Linked DNA regions of Homo sapiens: region 1 is linked to region 2. Evidence: promoter capture Hi-C in 16 types of primary human blood cells and fetal thymus (Javierre and others, 2016). All regions are on one chromosome and are shown on one strand. The core of a region is centred on a gene start or on the middle of the fragment in contact, and the rest is flanking DNA. Distances in the headings are between cores, read along the strand shown.

Region 1 (5,511 bases), core at 413-2,912, 220 kb after region 2:
CTGGACATAAATAGAATGAGAAGACATTTCCAGGTAATAAAAATATAGTAAATATGATTGTGTTTCTCATATCAGGGAGTTTCAGGGTTTTTTGTTGTTGTTGTTTTTGAGATGGGGTCTCGCTCTGTTGCCCAGGCTGGAGTGCAGTGGCGTGATCTCGGCTCACTGCAACCTCTACCTCCCAGGTTCAAGCAATTCTCATTCCTCAGCCTCCGGAGTAGCTGGGATTATAGGCGTGAGCCACTGCACCTGGCCGACTTTTGGTTATTGTTAAAATTAATTTCCAATCTATCACAGACCCAACATACTATCTCACTATGTGAGTTTATATGATCACACCAGTTCGTAGCTAGAGATCATGATGACTAGTTCATAGCTAGTGACTCTATGACTCACCACATGAATTTGACAACACCTCAAGCTGTTTGATGAGACATGCTTAGATGCTGTGACATTACAAAATTGTTATTAAAATTTCTAAAAGCTTATTTTTAATTTCTATACCTATTTTGTTACAGACCAGTAATCAAATGGTTGTAGTCATTCACCAGTTTAGGAAATCATACTTTGAGTAGCACTGCTGAACATAACCAAACTTCCTTGGCTTGTGTTTAAAGTAAACTTTTCATTTGGGTAACCAGAAACTCAGGATTTTCCATAACTGGTTAACATAACTGATATAAACACTGTGTTGAATATTATGGGGTAACAACAACATAAACAGCCTGAATAGTATTAGCAAAACTTTGGAGATGAAATGAGCAATCTGTATGCTGAAGATCATAAATATTTCCCTTAGCCATAATTATGAAGCATTTTACTAATTCCTAATGGGAAAGAATTAATAGTTAAGGTAAAAAACAGCTTGTATATGATGTATAGTTCATTGCATAGAAAACACTCTTAGAGACAGAGTAAACTACACATAGTTCTTACTCCCTAGCCTAGGCCTGGTCTTCTTAGGTATTCTTTTGTGGTCTTAAAAAACAATTGCTATAGAGATACTAAATACATTGTATAGATAATCCTGGACAGTGGACTCTAGATTGACAGTTGTCATCAGAGTTCTGGTACCCAGTTTGAGGAGACAGAGCAAAAACAACTTAGAAAGTTGCCTTAGCATAGTTTATTCCTATTTAAGCTCTCTACACCTTATAATCTTTATTTTTAAATTGGTATGTACATACACACATACATACATACATATATAACATCTATGTATGTATACTAGGGTTTCCCAACCTTCGTATTATTGACATTTCAGGCCAGTAATCCTTTGCTATGGGAGCTATTCTATTGATTGTAGGATATTTAAAAGCTCCCCCAGGACTCTAACCACTGGATACCAGTATCATGGCCCCAGTTGTGACAACCAATATCCACTGAGATATTGCCAAGTGTCCTATGGAAGATTGCTACCATTTGAAAATTACTGTTATATATAATATATATTATATATGTTAATATACTATGAATTTTAATAATTTTATTGATTTCTTGGAAAAACATGCATAAATCCATTAAGATTAGAAAGCAGACACTTTTTTTAAGAAAGCAGAATGGATCAAGATATTTAGTCTCACTTTTTCAATATTTTATATTTTATACAAGTATTTTAAAGGTACATACATCACATCCTGATGTGATGTACATACAACACACAATATTAGGCAAAGGTCTCTGTCAAGCAAATTTCCAAATATCACTAAAAAATAAATGCTAGATATAAAATGTTTATTCAATGTAGATGGGAAGGGAAAAATAATGTCAAGACATGTGGGTTGCATATCTACATTCTAATATATGGAAAGACTAGTCAGAAGACATTTTTAAACTTTCCTCCCAGGACTAGAGGCACTGCACCTTTAAATGGAGCTAGCTGCAGTAACCTGCAGAACTCTCATGGAATGTGGAGTGTTCCGGGATTCTGTCTAGTCAGGCCTCTGGCAGGGCTGTGGCAGCTTTGTTTGTGGGCAGGCAGCCTCCTCACATTTCTGTTACTTTATCCTTAAGGAAGTTGCCATGGAGACTGGCATGGAGATGGCAGTTGGCCAGGCAAAGAGTTTTAAGTTGAAAAAAACAACACATTCACACACACTCAAGCTCTTACTCACACATACTCCCAAAATAAACACATCCTTGTGTGTACATAATCAACTTTAAAAAAATACACTTAGCGTCATTGCCTATTTGGGTAAATGGTTAAACCTTTGTTTCTTTTCTAACTTGACCCAAAAAACACCATCAGAAAAAGAGCAGTTAATGAAGTAGGAAAATAGCACCTATTAAAAGTAATCCATCACAGCTCATGAACACCCAGCTAGTAGGCATCTGATTGCAAAATCTGTTTTCTTGGCAAAGGAGTCATGAGAAGGAAAACTAAAGTGATACAGTAAATGAAGAATTTCTTCATTTGGTGAAAACAAATGTGATTTGGTCAACTTAAATATTATCAAAAGTGGTCCAACATTTTATTTTATTTTCATAAACAAAATGTAAAAATAACACAGAGCTTTGAAGATTTGTTTTTTAATTTTGGGAGGGCAGCAGAATTGAAATCTTCTTTAGCATTCTGAAAAGCCTCAGATTTTATCCAATCTTTGTATATGGAGTACTTTCCACAGCAGCCTTCAAACTCAAGGTATTTGGTCAAAAACAATGATAAAATTCTGAAGTACATCTAGGTTGGTTAGAGAGAAATTCATGAAAGTCATAAATCCTTGAGAATTATCCCAAAACAGCATCAGAGATTTGAATGCTACTAGTGCATAAATTGCTTAGTGTTTACTTAGAAAACAAATCTCCATATGCAGTATGCACTTCATAAAACTAAAGCTTTCAATGTACTTTTATTTCAGCATGGACAATATGCAAGAAAGTATTGCTGTAATTCAGATTATTAGATTATGAACTGTACAAACAAGCATCAAACAGTAAAAGAAAATGGAAGGAAACGTTTTCAAAATGAAATGTTTCTTTCTGTTATGAAAGTAGTGTTGACAATCCAAAGATTTGTGTTTCCATATGTAACCAACTGAATAACACAACACTGACTATTGTGAATTTTATGTTTTTTTCCCCTCTCTCTTCAAAGGACAAACTGCCTTGGAGGTATTGTTGAGTGGGCTTCTGTGTGATAAGCCAACCCAAAACAGTTCACTTAAGGATTAAGTTGAAGCTTTGTTTTCAAGGTTTAGGGAACACTGCACAGCCTCACTTTATAATTACCACATGTATGACAAACCCTAGTGTTTTATAGTCCTTCTGATGACCAGCTGTGCATGGATTTTACATGGTCCTTTTGTCAGTATATAAATACAACCTGCTGAGGTTATGAGGAAACCACACAGTTATTAGTGTTGGTATGCACCATGAAAATGCTATTCAAATCAGCTTGTGGTTGACGTATTAGTTACTACATCAGAACCACTGATCTCTATTTTATTACTTCCCTGATGAATGACATAACACAACAAAAAAGTAGGAGTCTGCCTAGACAGATGTAATTTATCCAAACCGTCTGTTTCTATAACCCACAGAAGCAGATACTAAGTATTTTCCCCACATATATGACCATGGAAAATGATTGCAATAACATGAAATGTTACCACAGTGTTAATGACAATCCACTATACTGAGAGAAAAATCGATTAAAATCAGTTTTATTTTTCTTTTAAGGTGAAAGGCATACATTGCAATAAAGAGGTGTTGGGCTTTTATAGAGCACAGAGTAAAAACGAAGTTTTCACTCTATGACATGACAATTCTAATTGTTTTCTTTCATAAATTTACATGTACATGATTAGCAGCTTAATTTTCACAAAGCAGTCCTCAAAGACATCTTGGAAAACATGTCTTAGAAGTTCAGTTAAAACACCACCACCACTGCCATTACCACTCTCCCTCCTCTCATACCCATCTCTAACCTTTGGGCATTATTTTCAGCAGGAATGGATGTGAAGATGTTCAATAAGGGCTATGGCTTTTAACTTTTCACAATTGAAATGAACATTGTGCCTGAAAGTCTCCACTGACACATTAGACTTTGACATTCCTTCAATTAAAAGATTTACAAGTTAAAAGGATTATGAAGTTAGTTAACTTAAAAGGTATGCTTTCCTTCCCTGACATAAGGCAAAAAAAAAAAAAAAATGGATAGGCATTTTATCACAAATTATTTGGTTTATATAAATAGAAGCATTTTTTTCTAAAAGAGATGTTAAAACTGGAGTCATTTCAAAATGTATGTTTCCATTGAAAACCTTGGCCATCATTAGGATTAGGATGCTGGTTTGTGTTTGTTTTACTCATCCTCCTACCTACTCCATCTTTAAACATTTCTCCAGATTCTTGGGATATCCATTTCTCCTGCCACCTCTATCCTCACCCCTTGAAACCAGATTGAAGTTTTCTTTCATCAGGCCACATTCTACCATTTTGTCTTTTCTAATAAAACTTACCTGTCTTACATTTCATTCCTCTAGAGCTTTGCCCTCCATTACCTAAAATGGGGTCTAATTGTGTGGTCATGTAATCTAAACATGGCTAATAGCTGAGAATGAATTGGTTGGCTTGCTGTCCTGAGCCAACATAACTGCCAGGCACAGTAGGCGCAGTGTTGAGGGGCTACAATACTGCCAGGAACCTACAAAAAAACTTTTATCTTTTTAATTAGAAGAAAAAAATGAACTTTTAGGTCACAATAAGTGTTTTATTGCATATTATCAGTACATTTGTCTTCATAACAACAGACCCTTAAAATATAATTTTTAAGTTTTTATGGACGAAGAGCCCCATGAAGGCAAAAGTACCTGTGACCCACAAATTTATAATGCAGGACTGTTACTATCTAGTGACTTATGCCACTTGATTGGAAATCCTCATTTATTAATTCCTCTATTTTATGCCACATGTTTCTAATCATTTTCAAATAACTTTTATGGTATGCAAACTGTTTTCAGAAAGAGAAAAAATTCTGAGAGAAATATCCTGAGGAAGGCTTTTTAAAATGACTTTTTTTCAATAACTTTAGAAGTACAAGTTTTTTTTTGCTATGTGGATGAATTGTATAGTAGTGAAATCTGGGATTTTAGTGTACCCATCACCCAAGTAGTATATATTGTATTCCAACAGGTAGTTTTTCATCCCTCACCCCCTCTTTCTAAATTTCCAATGTTCATTATACCTCTCTGTCTACCTTTGCATGCCCATAGCATTCTCACTTACAAGTGAGAACATATGGTATTTGGTTTTTCATTCCTGAGTTACTTTACTTAAAATAATGACCTCCGGTTCCATGTTGCTGCAAAAGACATTATTTCATTCTTTTTATAACTGAGTAGTATTCCATGACATAAATATATACCACATTTTCCTTACCCACTCTTTGGTTGATGGGCACTTAGGTTGATTCTATATCTTTGCAATTGTGAATTGTGTTGCGAGAAGCATGCATGCAGGTGTCTTTTTTTAATATAATGATTTTTTTCTTGCCTAAAGAGATAGCCAGTA
Region 2 (5,506 bases), core at 1,265-3,764:
ACACTAAACTACATAGAACTCCAAAACAGATATCTACAATCTCCCTATTTTTCAGGCTCCTCTCTTTTCCCTCACTACTCCACTCTCTCTCTTTACCCCCCATCTTTCTCTCTCTCGCACACACTTTCTACTAGTATAGCTCATCCAGCAGCCTGTGTCTTTGAAAAAATGTGCATAACATTCACTATTTCCTGTTAGTAATAGGTTAAAAGAAGTCTCAAACAGAAAAACAATTATGTTATTCATTTCAATCTAAAGTTTCTTTTCTGAATATATACCATAGTAGAAAACAAGGACCCGAAACAAAGTGTAATTTTTGAAACACTTGGAAAAATGTAGCCAAATGAGTAAAAGGGATGGAATGTCTGATATTTTTCATGCAACCTTTGAGTTTATTGTTTTTGTTTTGTTGAGGCATGAGAAATGACTGTAAATTTTCCCCTTTTAACTTGTCCTTGCTCTGCCATTTCCTTGAGGAATGGCAGGCAGCATTCTCAACCTAACACCCCCAAAGAGTTAAAACTTAAGGCACCGAGCAGGAGGGCTAGTCTATTTAAGCATCAGCAGCACAAACTAAATGCTCACAAAGGCAAATAGCAGTGTGAGTCGACCTTGGAGGGGCAGGGTGGATTACAAAGCAATTGAAAAAGAAAAAAACAAAGCAATAATCTTTTGTATAATACTGAAAGTCTGCTTCCCAGTCTGGTTTACAAATAGGCGTTGCTGGACGAGACAAAATAAATGACAGATAACTACAGCATGAATTACCTAACCCTAATCACATCACCGAGTCCTGGTGACAGCATAGATCATTCAGGCACGCCTTGTTCACTCTCGGCATATTTATTTATTAAGGAGACGGTGGAGTCTGGCTAATGCTAATGCAATACAAAATAATATCACCCGTACACTCGAGGTGGTCACTCCGCTAACATGTTTTCCCCCTAATCAAGTCCAATTTAATTGACAAATCGGAGCAGTGATTTCACACCTGAGAGTCTTTCATGTCTTAACTGCAGGATAAAGTTCAGGGTAGGTACTGCCCACTGCTTACTTACGTGGGCTTGCCTCTGGGCCCCTAATGGTCATTTGACACACACACATAAAGCCTAAAGTATTTAACCAATTCAAGTCCAATTATGATCAGTTACATTTCATTCCTTTTCAAGACTCAGGCCTCCTCATGGCAGCTACACAGAAAAATAGATCTTCTAAAAGTAAAGAACATCTATTGTAAAGCAGTCTGTAGCATGCTGATCATCCTCAACATAAAATAAAATAGGCAAGGCAAATTAAAAATAAAAATAAACTCTCAGAGACTCTGGTAGGAGCCCTATACCTTCTCACACCCTTCTTTCATTCTATACCCTGCGATTAAAAGTTTGAGTTACCCCCACCGTTGCACGTCCTATCCAGTGGGAAAAACCCTTTTAGAGCCACAATCAAAGAACAGCTCACCAGAAAAGCCCCTGAAATTATATTCTTGTGCCTGGTAATCACTGTTGTGATCTGCTTTCTAAAAACCGTGCCCATCTGCAAAAGACGTTCCTGATATCAGGACCATTTATGCTGCCAAATAACAACAAAGAAACTGAACTCAAGTGAAACTATTATCTCTCCTTAAAGAGAAAGCTACAATTCCGGGTTTGCTGCTTTCTTCTTATGTCTTCCTCTGCCTCATTAACTCCATTGGTATGTCACTAATTTCAAAGAAGCAGGAAGAAGTGATGGGGGTGGGGGTTAACTAATAATTCACACGCCTGTCTGTTTCCCATCCCAAGTGCAGAACGATACCACGCTGATCGCCAGACCGTGGGTCAAGCCATACCTTGGTTTGGAGATAATGAGGATAGTAGTAAGTGTACTGGGGGTACATTTGTGGCTGATCCAGGCGTTTGCCCATGTAGCTGGAATCTTTATCTCCGAGGCAGGGAACTGGATGACAGGGTATAGTGCCCCAGGCCGAGCTTCCTCTTAAACCACTATTCCTGACAGTCCCGGTGACTGATGAGGCTTCAGAGACTCCACCACTCGCTAGTTCCAACACAGCAAGAATTTTTTTAAAAAACAAAACAAAACAAAAAACACACACCAAAGGAAAAAAAAAAAGGGCGAGGAGTGAGATCTGTAGAAAAAACACCCACACACAGCCTTCCCAGATCTTGCCTGGCTTCCCCCAGCTGCCGGGGTCCACTTGGGATGAGGCAGTTTGTTCTCTAACCAGGCTGTCTGTAGTGATGTCAATTGCCAGCGTTCGTAAAGGGGGAAAAAAATCAAAGTCCTTTTAGCACAACTCCGAATCCTTGCAGATCAGCTTCCTGTCTCTTGGTTGTCTCTTTCCCCACCTTAAAGAAAAAGAAAAAAGAGAGAGAGAAAGAGAAAGAAAGAAAGAAAAAGAAAGAAAGAAAGAAAAAGAAAGGGGAAAAAGAAAAAAAAAAAGAAAAAAAGGAAGAAAAAAAAAAAAAAAAAACCTTGTACAGCTTAGTTGCTGCTGTCTCCCTCCCAGAGTGACATGGTGTTCGGGGCTTGTCCTGTCCTTTCATTCACTTCCCCTCCTTCCAGCCGGTGGGTGGAACCGAGAGAGCCTCTCCAGGGAGCAGCGTACGCAGTCCAGAAGGCTGCAGTATTTCCTCCAAGAAAAAAAAAAAAAAAGGCTGCTTCAACCCCTGCTGCAAGCAAAGTTCCGATTCCCTCTGCTGGCTATCTCGAATAGCAAGCGATTTTTGCAGCAACGCTGCTGCCGCTGGAACTGAACCTGAAGAACTCAAATGCGGGCGGTGGATTATTTCTTATCCCTCCTCCATCTACCCCACACAAGAGCTGCTTTTTGTTCCTCTTTTTGCCAAGTTCCAAGGTAAGCCACACTGCTAAACAAAACACAGAAGAGAGGGAAGAGAGGACGAAAGAAGGAAGGAGGAGAAAGGAAAAGAAATAAAGGCAGGGGAACTAACCTTGCTGGTTAAAGGGGAAAAAAGTAAGTCCCGGATGCTTTCAAAATCTGTTAACACGCTAGAGCCAGACGCATCCAAGAGCTGATTGAGAAACTAACCTTTTACTACCTGGAAAACTTGGTGGATGTTAAGTATTGAAGAAATTTTAGGGTCTACTCCAGGACTACTATTAATGCCACATGTCATCAGATTGGACTGATCAACTGAACATATCAAAAATAATAACTTTTTTAAAATACATCCATTTTGTAAAAAAAAAAAAAAAAAAAATCAAAGGAAGTGACCCCTTAGGTTCGTCAGATATTTTACAGATAAAATCTGTTTCTCCCATTGTCTCTCTCTTTATGATTATTTTGTTGCATTGATGCTTTAATCACTTTACTGATATCATCTAAAAAAAAAAGAACAAAAATCATAATTGCTTGGCAGAGTTTTTTCCCACCAATGATAATATTCTGTCATGTCTATCAGCTGCTACATTATAATACAAATTGTTTCAGATAAAATATATTTCCTTAAAGGGTCCCTTTTCAAGGCGGGCGAGGCTAAAATTAGATGTGCCAGCTGTGTTTTGCTGCGAGTGCTCACGCATGCCCAAAGCGTGGGCAGACCAATACTGAGCTCTTTTCTACTTTGTCAAGTCGGCTCTGTTCTCCTGAGCCCAGAGTCTCCTATTTAGATAAAAGGTCCCTGGTACAAATCCAGCTTCCTAGTCAAGAAGAACAGAGAATTTGGGCTCAGTGCACACATGGTGTCCATCCACATACAAGCCGCACCACCCCTAAAGCAACTGGCTTCCACCGAGGGGAACTGGTTTCTGGAAGCTGTGTGAGTGCATACGTGTTCCTTGGATAAAAATAAGGATGGCAGGTAAATAGTTTTATGTTTTACTTTTGACAAGAATAACAATCAGAAGGAAGGAAGGATGGAGGGTGAGAGGGTAAGAGTTAGGAGGCCCTGACAACATGGTGATTGAGAATATTAAATCAACCCCACCTATCTCTTAAATGTATTATTTGGGGCCTCAGTTGTCCCATCTATAAAATAGAAATACTGCCAACTCTCCTGGCTGAAGGCAGTACACTGAATCAGACACTAAAAATGACACTGATTTAAAAATCCTCCAGTGGTGTCACGTTTCTCAAACAATAAAGTCCTGACTCTTTGGAATAGGTTTCAGGACACTTGACGAGCTGTCTGGCCCTGGCTTTCTACTCTAGTCTCGGACTTTCAACTCTGCCCCTCACATCCTATACCGGAGTCACTCTGAGCTACTTTCAGGACAGGAACATGCTCTCAGAGGCTTCTGTCATTCCCTCTTCCTGGAGTGCTCTCCCAAGTCCATCTCCACCTCTTTTACCCTTCAGCCTGTCCTTCAGGTCTCAGTATGGATATCACCTCCTCACAGTAGCTTTCTCTAAACCCTTCCTTCTCTGCTGCACTTTATATTTGCCCTCATAGAAGGCTTATTCTACATGTATTTGCCTGCTTATTGTTTGTTTCTTCCATGATGTTCTAAACTCTAGGGGGGCAGGAGGTCACATTGTTCTCACTTGCCTTTATATTTCCAAAAACTTGCATAGAGTTGAGCACAAAATGGGTGTTCAGTAAATGTCTGAAGAATAAAATGTTAGACATAATTAATAATTTTTCAACCTGACTTACATCCCTCTTTCAGTACATTTCAGTCCCTGTTACAGGTCAAGAATTGACCTGGGTGCAGGATATAGAGGCACATGAATCAGAACAAGGTCCTTCTTTCATCGAGTTTATATTTAGTGGGGAAGGGGGGACAAACAAAGGGATAAAGAAGTAAATATGCAGTATAATGTCAGGAAATACAAAGCGCTGTAAGGAAATATGAAACAGAGTAAAGAGAAACAAAGTCACAGAGATTCTACTTTAAACAAGATAGGAAAATGCTCTCCAAGGAAGAGCCTTGGAAAATGCTTTCCTAAGGTCAAAGCAAGGGTGTGAACCATTCTCTGGGTATTGTGCACTGTGAGAATACTTCGTGTTAATGCCTTGGATCCCATCCAGACTGCCTGGGTTCCAATCCTGCCCCTTCTTCATTCATCTCCCTCAGTTTCTTCATCCATCAAATATCACTATTCACTTCATACAGTTATTTAGAAAACCAACCCAGATAAACACATGAAGCTTTTAAAACACCTTGTACCATGTTGGATCTGCTTAACAAATGCCAGCCTGCACATGGGGGAAAAACATCCCAGTCACAGGGAACAGTAAGTACAGAACGGCCTGCAGTGGGACTGTGTCTTTGGAATGTGCAAGATCCGGCACAGAGGCTGAAATGAAGCAAGTGAGGAAAGACCATAAAATGGGGTTAGGGAGGTACCCTTGGGCCAGATCATATAAACCTTAGTAAAGAACTGATATGGAAAGCTAATTAATTGATAGTTAACAGTACAGCAAGGACTTTATCCAAATATTCAGATTCTACATCTAGTCATCTTCAACTATAGAATGCTGTCATTTAAACAACCTATTAATGCTCCTCCAAGTTCTATCTTGTAAGAACAAAATCCAAGATT

Evidence for each region. The method cuts DNA at HindIII sites, captures the fragments that hold promoters and counts their contacts. A CHiCAGO score of 5 or more calls a contact.
Region 1: a fragment that was not itself captured here is called in contact with the fragment with the promoter of RBMS3 in region 2 in 1 of 17 cell types (neutrophils); the score reaches 5.2 in neutrophils.

Annotation. Positions count from the first base shown.
Region 1 is chr3:29,062,092-29,067,602 of GRCh38, reverse strand. No RefSeq gene overlaps it. Among named protein-coding and RNA genes, the nearest start is that of RBMS3-AS3, 220 kb to the left of the region's middle. The HindIII fragment of the contact is 2,351 bases long and covers 487-2,837 here.
Region 2 is chr3:29,278,079-29,283,584 of GRCh38, reverse strand. RBMS3 (RNA binding motif single stranded interacting protein 3) reads right to left here and starts at 2,514. Exons shown (of 15, transcript NM_001003793.3): 1 at 1,829-2,514. The coding sequence starts at 1,903. RBMS3-AS3 (RBMS3 antisense RNA 3) reads left to right here and starts at 2,646. Exons shown (of 3, transcript NR_109804.1): 1 at 2,646-2,854. RefSeq lists an enhancer at 3,610-3,659. The HindIII fragment of the contact is 8,241 bases long and covers 1-5,113 here.